Regions from separate parts of the Homo sapiens genome. Here region 2 is linked to region 1. Evidence: promoter capture Hi-C in human tissues and cell types (Jung and others, 2019). All regions are on one chromosome and are shown on one strand. The core of a region is centred on a gene start or on the middle of the fragment in contact, and the rest is flanking DNA. Distances in the headings are between cores, read along the strand shown. Region 1 holds the start of WDR88 (WD repeat domain 88). Region 2 overlaps RHPN2 (rhophilin Rho GTPase binding protein 2).

Region 1 (5,492 bases), core at 2,123-4,622:
TGAGATTCCTTCAGATGATGGTAGGCAGCAGTGAGGGGCTTGTAGTCATTGCTGTGGAAGATTCCTTCTTGTGAGCACACCACGGTATGTTTATCTCTTCTGTTGTGTGGATACTGGGTTTTTTACTTTGAGTCTGTGGAGCAGGGATTTTCAGCCAGTGTGACCCAGCTCTGTTTCAAATAGAACTGCCACGAACATTCCTATATGTATGAAATTCAGATTTAGGCCAGGTGCGGTATCTCACGTCTGTAATCCCAGCACTCTGGGAGGCCGAGGCAGGCGGATCATGAGGTCAGGAAATCGAGACTATCCTGGTTAACACAATGAAACCCCAAACCCCATCTCTACTAAAAAAACTAGCCAGGCGTGGTGGCACGTGCCTGTAGTCCCAGCTACTCAGGAGGTGGAGGCAGGAGAATCGCTTGAACCTGGGAGGTGGAGGTTGCAGTGAACCGAGATCGCGCCACTGTACTCCAGCCTGGGTGACAGAGACTCTGTCTCAAAAAAAAAAAAAGAAAAGAAATTCAGATTTAAGACTGACAACTTGGGGGCTGGGCATGGTGGCTCATGCCTGTAATCCCAATACCTTGGGAGGTCAAGATGGGAGGATCGCTTGAGCCCAGGAGTTCAAGACCAGCTCGGGTAATATAGGGAGACCCTGTCTCTATAAAAAAATTAAAAAAAAAAAAAAGACAACTTGGATGCTTTGGGCCCTGGAGTGAATGTATTTTAGTTCCTTCCCAAGGGTCATGCAACGGATGCGGTAGGTGAGTGAAACTGAGATTAAAAATTGCTTGTATTCTCAAGGCTAAATAAGACTAGGGAAAAAAGTTGCTTTTATAAGTGGTCTTAATACGAGGTGTGGGTGAGTGAGTCTCTGTGTGTTTTCAGGGTAATAGAAGAAGCATTTTAAGAACACAGATTGGCCGGGTACGGTGGCTCATGCCTGTAATCCCAGCACTTTGGGAGGCCGAGGCGGGCAGATCACAGTCAGGAGTTCGAAACAAGCCTGGCCAACATGGTGAAACCCCATCTGTACTAAAAATACAAAAATTAGCTGGGTATGGTGGCATGTGCCTGTAATCCCAGCTACTCTGGAGGCTGAGGCAGGAGACTTGCTTAAACCTGGGAGGCGGAGGTTGCAGTGAGCTGAGATCGCACCACTGCGCTCCAGCCTGGGCGACAAAAGTGAGACTCCATCTCGGGGGAAAAAAAAAAAAAAGCACAGATTAGGCAGTACTTCATTGTGGGTTATTGTGAGTGCATTTTGTAGGTGCAGACATGCTGCTGTGATATGGGGAGGCCTGGCATTCTCAGCCTCCACGGAGCTGTTTGGTTTTTCACTTTAGCTAACTTTCCATTTCTCTCTTTTCTGTTTTCTTTTCCAGGCTGAAAAGTCTTCCACTAAGAAGGCAGTAATTGAATGCTGCCCTGGCTCGTCCTAGAATCATTTCTCCTCCATGATGGAAGCCCAGTGATTGTTCAGTTAACGCATTGTACAGAGTGTATTTATATGTAAATTCCTGCTGTAAAATAATTTTTAAAACCTTGACATTTCAAAGACTGCCTTGAAAGGTCGCAGAAATTGATTTCTATTTTTAATTTCAGTTAGTATCGGGGGAAAAAAATCCAGACTGAACAGTTTAATTAAAGTGGAATTTTTCTATTTTCTTCTTGATTTTTAAAAAATTTCCTGGGACGTTAAAAAAGAAGTTAAAAGTGAAGGCTTCTCTCTGGTTTTGTGATGAAGACAGCCTGGACTCACTGAAGGACAAGCGTGTGAGAAGGGGCGGTTGCGGCCCCTCCTGCCGTTTTTTGGGAGTGAAGCTCTTCCCTCTCTGGGTGGCTGGGTTACTGTTGGTGCCCAGGAAGCCCCATGGGAGGGCAGAGCCAGGGCCTGGCAGGGGGCCTCAGCCTCTCAGGGTAGATGTCACTAAAGTGTCTGAGACAGGCAGGGAAACCAGGCAGGAGAATGTGCACCCACAGCCTGGGTTACACGGCTGCAGCTCCCTGCTCTGAGGCCACCTCATGTGTACCAAGGAGACCTTTTTGAAAAATAAAGTGCAGACCAGGTGTGATGGCTAATGCCTGTAATCCCAGAGCTTTGGGAGGCCGAGGCGGGAGGATTGCTTGAGCCCAGGAATTCCAGACCAGCCTGGGCCACATAGAGACCCCTGTCTCCACAAAAAATAAAGTATTGAGCATTTGTATTTTACATTATGAAAGTAGCATCATAGATCACAACAATTTTAAAAGCAGAAAGAAGGAAGAGGCCGGGTGCGGTGGCCCATGCTTGTAATCCCAGCACTTTGGGAGGCCGAGGCCAGCGGATCACTTGAGGCCAGGAGTTCAAAAACAGCCTGGCCAACATGGCGAAACCTTGTCTCTACTAAAAATACAAAAAAATTAGCCAGGTCTGGTGAGCATACACCTGTAATCCCAGCTGTGTGGGAGGCTGAGGCACGAGAATCCTTTGAACCCTGGAGGTGGAGGTTGCAGTGAGCCGAAATTGCGCTACTGCAATCCAGCCTGGGTGACAGACTCTTGTCTCCACCAAAAAAAAAAAAAAAAAAAAAGAAGGAAGAAAATCACTTTTAGTTTTATCATCCAAAGATGACACCCTTCTTCAATATTTTGAATAATTCCACCCTGTCCTTTTCTAGCTATGGGGCTGTTATCTGACTGGTGGTAGCATTTTATTCCCTGTCACTGTTGTTGGGGTTGTGACAGATATTTCCCTCATCTATTATAAATGTTGTAAACCCACCCCTAATAACTGCATCTTATTTCATGCAGGGGCTACCCCATAACTTACTGACCTTTTCTGTTTTGTCATGAAGTGGGTTGGCCAGGAGCTGTACCCAGGCAGAGGACATGAAGAAATTGCCCTGTGACAGGAGCCAGGGAAACCACAGCGGAGGGCTGGAGGCTGGGGTGCTGGTTTTGCTGGCTCGGCCTGGTTCCCAGAATGCAAAGCCCATTTTTCTTTTTTTTGCAACCTCCACCTCCTGGGTTCAAGCCATTCCCCTGCCTCAGCCTCCCATGTAGCTGGAACTACAGGCGCACGCCCCCATGCCTGGCTAATTTTTGTTATTATTTTTTTTAAGTAAAGATGGGGTTTCACTAAACCTGTTGGCCAGGCTGGTCTCCAACTCCTGACCTCAGGTAATCCGCCCGCCTCGGCCTCCCAAAGTGCCGGGATTACAGGCGTGAGCCACCGCGCCCGGCTGCAAAGCCCATTTTTCTATAGGTAACCTGTGCTGCGCGGGGTGGCACTAGTTTTCACCCAGCGGGCGAGGAGGCAGCGAAGTCGCGGGCCCAGCGTAGCGCGCGCCTCCGAAGGGCTTGGTGCGGGCGCGGGCGCGGGCGCGCGGCGCCACCGTTCCCATCCAGGCTTGTCGGCGGCCACCGGCGGACCGGGCTTCGAGATGGCCTCCCCGCCGCGGTGCTCCCCGACAGCCCATGACAGGGAATGCAAGTTGCCGCCACCCTCCGCCCCCGCCAGCGAGTATTGTCCCGGCAAGCTGTCCTGGGGGACCATGGCGAGGGCCTTAGGCCGCTTCAAGCTGTCGATCCCGCACACGCACCTGCTGGCCACCCTCGACCCCCTGGCCTTGGACAGGGAACCACCACCGCATCTGTTGCCTGAGAAGCACCAGGTGCCGGAGAAATTGATCTGGGGCGACCAGGACCCTCTCTCCAAGGTCAGAACCGCCGCTGGGGTGAGGGGGCACTGGCCTGTTCCCCACACGGGAGGAAGGCGCTCGAGCTGTCGGGGGACCCATGGAAAACCCACCTGGCTTCACCAGGACCCCCAGCGAGGCCCTAGGCCCATTTCCCCATCTGTGGTACATCTGTGGGCAAAGGTCAGACCCACCTGAGCAGGGCGTGCTGGGGATGCCGGCGGGGGCTCCCCGCACTGCCACCTGCTGGGGAACCAGGACTCTTCGCTGGGAGGAGGCTCTGCCCCACCATGTGACCCCATCTAGACCTTGGAGTCTCCGTAGGTAGGCCCACCCACAGTGATGCTCCTAATTGCAGCCCAAGGGTCGGTGGCTCAGCTCTCCCCGTCCAGGAGATACAGTTAGCGTCAGAAGAAACGGGAAACTCAGAATAATAATAACAACAATGAATTGGGCCAGGCAAGGTGGCTCACACCTGTAATCCCAGCCCTTTGGGAGGCCCAGGTGGGAGGATCACTTGAGCCCAGGAGTTTGAGACCAGCCTGGGCAACATAGTGAGAGGTCGTCTCTACAAGAAATAAACTTAGCCCAGTGTGATGGGGCGCACCTGTGGTCCCAGCCACTTGAAAGGCTGAGGCAAGAGGATCCCTTGAACCCAGGAGTTTAAGGCTGCAGTGAGCTATGATTGTGCCACTGCACTCCAGCCTGGGCAACAGAGCGAGACTGTCTCCAGAATAAATAAATAAATAAATAAATAAATAAATAAATAAATATAGAGAGAGAGAGAGAAAGAAAGAAAGAAAAAGAAAAAGAAAGAAAGAAGGAGAAAGAAAGAAAAACTGGCTGGGTGCAGTGGCTCATGTCTGTAATCCCAGCACTTTGGGAAGCCGAGATGAGCAGATCACTTGAGGTCAAGGGTTCGAGACCAGCCTGGCTAACATGGTGAAACCCTTTCTCTACTAAAAATGCAAAAATTAGCCAGGCATGGTGGTGCGTGCCTGTAATCCCAGCTACTCAGGAGGCTGAGGCAGCAAGATCATTTGAACCCGGGAGGCAGAGGTTGCAGTGAGCTGAGATCATCTCACTCCATCTCAAAAACAAAACAAAACAAAAACCCAATAAAGAACATTCTCAATAAGTAGCGTTTCATGCTTGGCCTTGATTTATTGCACTCACATGCAGATGTCAGAGTGTGTTTTTAATAATTTCCTCGAAACCTCTGCCTGGCTTCCCAGCATGTTTAAGATGAAGTCTGGCGATCTGCCTGTGGCCTTCCAGGCCATTTCAAATCTGGCACCTCTCCATGTTCTCCTCCCCCATCCCCCTGTCTTGCTGACCTACAAGCAGGTCTGGCCTCAGGGATCTTGGCGGTTCCCTGCCCCCACGGTATTGCGCTCTTGGGGAGGCCCTCCCTGACCGCCCGTCTAAAGTAGCCAGGGCCACTGTCTCCTCCGTGCCTCATGCCATGGTCTGACATCCCCGTTCCGTCCTCAAGGTGTCCTCTGGCTGCCAGCAACTGGCCCCTCGAGGTTAGGGACTTTGCTCCTAGGTGGCTGCTGAGCTGCAGCATCAGGTCCAGGCCCCATGGGGGAGGAGGCTCTTGAGGTTTATTTGTGGAATATGTGAATGAACGCTACGCATAGAAGAACCGTTTTGTTTTTGCTCTGTCCTCTGCATGAGCTTTGTCAGCACCTCTGAAATGTACTCATGTGTTGGGGACTTCTCTCTGCAGCCCCTGGGACCCCTTTACCTAGTGGATCCCAAGGGACTGTGTGCAGAAAAAAACCTGAAACGAGAGCCCCAGAAAAG
Region 2 (5,239 bases), core at 1,260-3,759, 85 kb before region 1:
TCTACTTTTTTTTTTTTTTTTTTTGGAGATGGAGTCTCGCTGCGTGCCTAGGATGCAGTGCAGTGGCGCGATCTCGGCTCACTGCAATCTCCGACTCCTGGGTTCAAGTGATTCTCATGCCTCAGCTTTCCAAGTAGCTGGGACTACAGGTGCATGTCACCATGTCCAGGTAATTTTTGTATTTTTAGTAGACACAGGGTTTCGCCATGTTGCCCAGGCTCGTCTTGAACTCTTGACTTCAAGTGATCCACCTGCCTTGGCCTCCCCAAAGGGCTGGGATGGCAGGTGTGAGCCACTGCGCCTGGCCTACTTTTTTTATTTAGTAACAGCTTTATGGAGATATAATCCATATACCATACGTTTTGCCCTTTTAAAATAAACAATTCATTGGTTTTTAGTATATTCAGGAGTTACAGAACCATCAGTGCTATCTGATTTTTTTTTTTTAGATGGAGTCTTGCTGTGTCATCCAGGCTGCAGTGCAGTGGCACAATCTCGGCTCACTGCAACCTCTGCCTCCCAGGTTCAAGTGATTCTCCTGCCTCAGCCTCCCGAGTAGCTGGAATTACAGGTGCCCACCACCACGCCTGGCTAATTTTTGTATTTTTAGTAGAGACAGGGTTTCGCCATGTTGGCCAGGCTGGTCCTGAACTCCTAACCTCAAGTGATCTGCCTACCTCAGCCCCCCAAAGTGCTGGGATTACAGGCGCGAGCCACCACGCCCATCAACCACTATCTGATTTTAGAACATTTTCATCAGCCTAAAAAAAAAGCAAGTAGCCATTAGCATCGCTCCTCATTTCCTTTTCCCCTTAACCCCAGCCCTAGGCAACCACCAATCTACTTTCTGTCTTTACAGGTTTGCTTATTCAAGATTATTTCATATAAACGGAATCATATAATATGTGGCCTTTGCATCTGGCTTCTTTCATTTGCCATGATGTTCTCAAGGTTTATCCAGGTTGTAGCATGTATCAGAACTTTGTCCGTTTTTGTCCCTGAATAAGATTTCATTACATAGATACACCACACTTGTGTACTTTATCCATTCATCATTCATCATACAATGGGCATGGGGAGTGTTTTCACTTTTTGACTATTACGAATAAGGCTGTTTATGTGCGTACAAGGTTTTATATGGATATGTGCTTTTGTTTCTCTTGGCTATAAATATAGAAATAAAATGTCTAGATCAGGTGGTTTTTTTGTTTTGTTTTTATTTTTGATTCTGTTTTTTTGAGACAGAGGCTTGTTCTGTCGTCCAGGCTTGAGTGCAGTGGCTCGATCTCGGCTCATTGCAACCTCTGTCTCCCAGGTTCGAACGATTCTCCTGCTTCAGCCTCCCGGGTAGCTGGGATTACAGGCGTGCACCACCATGACCAGATAATTTTTGTATTTTTAGTAGAGAGGCGGGTTTCATGATGTTGGCCAGGGTGATCTCAAACTCCTGACCTCAAGTGATCCGCTTGGCTTGGCTTCCCAATATGCTGGGATTACAGGCGTGAGCCACTGAGCCCGGTCTAGATCATATGATTTATTCTATGTTTAATGATTTGAGGAACTATCAGGCTCTTCAAAGTGGTTATACAATTTTACAACCCAACTAACAGGATGAGAGTTCCAATTCATCTACATCTCACCAATACAGGTGCTGGTCTATCTTTTTTATTACAGCTACCTTATGTGTGTGCTGTCTCACATCGTGGTTTTGAATTGTGTCTCCCTGACAGTTAATGATGTTGAATATCTTTTCATGAACTTATTGGCCAACTGTATATCTTCTTCGAAGAAATATCAATTCAGATCCTTTGCCCATTTTTTTTTTTTGAAACAGGGTCTCAGTCTGTCACCCAGACTGGACTGCTGCAGTGGTATGATCTTGGCTCACTGCAACCTTCACCTCCTGGGTTCAAGTGATTCTCCTGCCTCAGCCTCCTGAGCAGCTGGGACTACAGGTGCATGCCACCACGTCCGGCTAATTGTTCCATTTTTTGGTAGAGACAAGGTTTCACCATTTTTTTGCCAGGCTGGTCTTGAATTCCTGACCTCAAGTGATCTGCCCATCTTGGCCTCCCAAAGTGCTAGTCTTACAGGTGTGAGCCACCACACCCAGCTCTCCTTTGCCCAGTTTTAAACTGGATTGTCTTTTTATCTGTCTGGTTGAAAATTATTTTTAATTTCTGTCAAGTTGACATGCAAAAATAGATAGCTCATTCTTCTAATTTGTATGTTTATTATAACAGTGAAGGTAAAGGTTTTTCCATATAATCTTGACACTTTAATTTCTTTTTCAACAAATTGTCTGTGTTCTCTGACCATTGTGCCCTGGGGTATTTGGATTACAACGCTTCACGCTAAAAGTTTAAGATCAGAATAAAAGCTGCATTTTAGCTGAATGGTGTTCTTCCCACCCCAGACAGGTAGAAGCCTCAGGACCTGGGATACGCCCACATTCCTCTTTGCCGCTTATCTCTAGGTCCTGCCCACTGCGGTTACTCCCTGGGAGCGGTCTGGCGGGTAGTATTACGTGGTGAAGAGACTGCCCTTTCTCTCTCCCTGAGTCACATCTCAGGCCTGCACACACCTGGCCTCTCCGACCTCTGCCCAAGCCACACCCATGGCCTGGACCCCAGGGAGGGAGATGTGAGTTATCTATAGCGGAAACCTCCTCAGGAATCCCAGTATTCTCCTTCCACAGAGATTTCTCATTCTTGGCCAGAATGGTCATGGTAGCTCACAACTGTAATCCCAAGCACTTTGAGAGGCTGAGGCCAGAGGATCGCTTGAGGCCAGGAGTTTGAGGCTGCGGTGAGCTACAATTGCGCCACTGCACTCCAGCCTGGATAACAGAGTGAGACTCTGTCTCTACAAATAATAATAAAAATTTTTAAATAATAATAAAAATAAAAGACTTCTCATTCTCATTTCCCATCAGGTCACCACCACCCATCCCCCACATAGCCCCACAACCTAATTTTCCCTGTCTCGCAAGGACACTTTCCCCCAAGTTCAAATTGCACAGATATTCGGAATTCGAGTTGGCTTCTGTAGACAGGCTGGAGTGCAGTGGTACGATCTCAGCTCAGTACAGCCTCTGCCTCCTGGGTTCAAGTGATTATCCTGCCTCAGCCTGCTGAGTAGCTGGAATTACAGGCACCCACCACCACACCCAGCTAATCTTTCTATTTTTAGTAGAGATGGGGTTTCACCGTGTTGGCCAGGCTGGTCTCGAACTCCTGACCTCAGGTGATCCACCCGCCTCGGCCTCCCAAAGTGCTGGGATTACAGGCATGAGCCATGGCATCCAGCCCTGGAATGGATTTTAAAATTAATATCGTTTAAAGCATTAAACGGTTTCCAATTTTGTCTTTCTTCAGATTTAAGATTAAAATATCTTTGGCCGGGCATAGTAGTTCACGCCTGTAATCCCAGCACTTTGGGAGGCTGAGGCGGGTAGATCACCTGAGGACAGGAGTTCGAGAACAGCCTGGCCAACATGGTGAAACCCTGTCTCTACTAAAAATATAAAAATTAGCTGGGCGTAGTGGCATGCGCCTATAATCCCAGCTACTCTGGAGGCTGAGGCAGGAGAATCACTTGAACCCGGGAGGCAGAGGTTGCAGTGAGCCAAGATAACACCACTGCACTCCAGCCTGGGTGACACAGCGAGACTCAGTCTCAAAAAAAAAAAAAAAAAAAACTTTAATGTTAAGCTATTATAATTAAATATTAAATAACTAAAATAACTGTTCATCTCTTTCCTTTCCACTTCCAAAAATGACGACGATTCAGTTTGACTCTGAATTACCTGGATCACCACTGCTGTGTTTCATTTTACAGGGAAGCTTGAATAACTAATTCCTTTACGTACATTCCCAGAGCTCAGATAAGCAGCCATTCCAAACTACGGATAAGAATGTTTTTTTTTCTGTTCGTATACTTTCCCCAACTTCTGCTGGCCTGGAATCAGTACGCCCTAACCAGCCCATAGATATGTGGTCAGGTTTCTAGATAAGGCATAGGAACACTTAGGGTTAGATTTGACTGAGTAATTGGGCCCGAAACCACATTACTTATTCCTGACAGGTAGGAATGTTGGGCTTTGCTGGGGAACACAAGAAACACCCACGGGGCTGTGTGTGGAAACTTCCCTGAGAGGTAAATCTGGACAAGACTGTCAGAAAGACTCCCTGGCATCACCAGAAACTATTGGCCATCTACTAGCCCCTGCCAGGGGCTGCTCTGTAGGGGACAAGGTGGCGGGTCCACCATCCCCACCCATACATTTCTCACCCCACCCCCTATCTTGTGTAATAACGAGACCTTAGCCCTGAACAAACAGCTTCCAGAATAGCCTCTGCAACTCAGAGACAGGGATTGGTTCTCAACAGAACACAAAGCCGCTCTGAGACTGGAGTGAGGGTTTGCACCAGGGACTGGGGCTAAACCTCTCACACCTGTGGGGCCAACTGAGCTGTCCTGACCTCGGGATCTGCTGTTGACAAGTTCTACAGTGAAGTGAGACTTTCTCCTCCACAGAGTCTATTCCCTTCCCACACTAAGGTTCGGACATTTCCGTCAGTCCCGAAACTTGAAGAGTGGGCAAACAGCCAACACCCAAGAAAAGCAAGTACTGAGTGAACCCCCGTGTCATCACCAGCTTTACAGGCAACTCCTGGGGTCGGCCCGCTTATGTGGACCCTGGTACAGCATCTCGGATCCCATGGTTCTGCAGCAAGGAGGCTATATGAGCAACTTGAGATCCTAGAGGCAGGCAGTAAAAGTTGGGGTGGGATTTAAGACCCTGTCCTTCCTGCTGCTCCAGGATGAGCGGTGAGGCGGTGTGAGCGGTAGGAATGCATGCAACCCCCAGACACCCCTTCATGGGTGATGGCTGCCCACCATCACCCCACATCTTTTGGGGGAACAGTGATGCCAGCCCACTCTCCCGCCTCATAGCCCATGATGGCCTGGTGGGGGGCAGGGGTGTGTGTGTAAATCCATGCTCCCCCAACATCCTTTCCAAAGGGAAGAACATCTGACTTCTGCCTGGCCCATTGGAAAACCAAAGCCTGAAGATCAGGGTCAATCGAAACCCATCAGGAAGAGGTCCTCATTGGCCTTGAACCTGGGAGGCTGTGACACTGAGCAGTTGCAGCCACCTTACCACCAGCAGAAGAGTGTCTCCCTAGACAGGGAACCAACCCCAGGTGGGCTGAGCTGAGAAACAGATTTGGCG

The links. Contacts are between HindIII fragments. The study calls those that stand out against the background at their distance.
Region 2: a fragment that was not itself captured here is called in contact with the fragment with the promoter of WDR88 in region 1 in 2 of the 25 tissues and cell types used here (H1 embryonic stem cells and mesendoderm cells).

The regions. Positions count from the first base shown.
Region 1 is chr19:33,128,742-33,134,233 of GRCh38, forward strand. It overlaps WDR88 (WD repeat domain 88), which reads left to right and starts at 3,373. Exons shown (of 11, transcript NM_173479.4): 1 at 3,373-3,704. The coding sequence starts at 3,429. It overlaps GPATCH1 (G-patch domain containing 1), which reads left to right. Exons shown (of 20, transcript NM_018025.3): 20 at 1,389-1,801. The coding sequence ends at 1,419. RefSeq lists a silencer at 308-452 and an enhancer at 3,210-3,379. The HindIII fragment of the contact is 34,056 bases long and covers 1-5,492 here.
Region 2 is chr19:33,045,046-33,050,284 of GRCh38, forward strand. The region is part of intron 1 of RHPN2 (rhophilin Rho GTPase binding protein 2); the gene reads right to left. Among named protein-coding and RNA genes, the nearest start is that of RHPN2, 17 kb to the right of the region's middle. RefSeq lists an enhancer at 3,235-3,953. The HindIII fragment of the contact is 8,752 bases long and covers 1-5,239 here.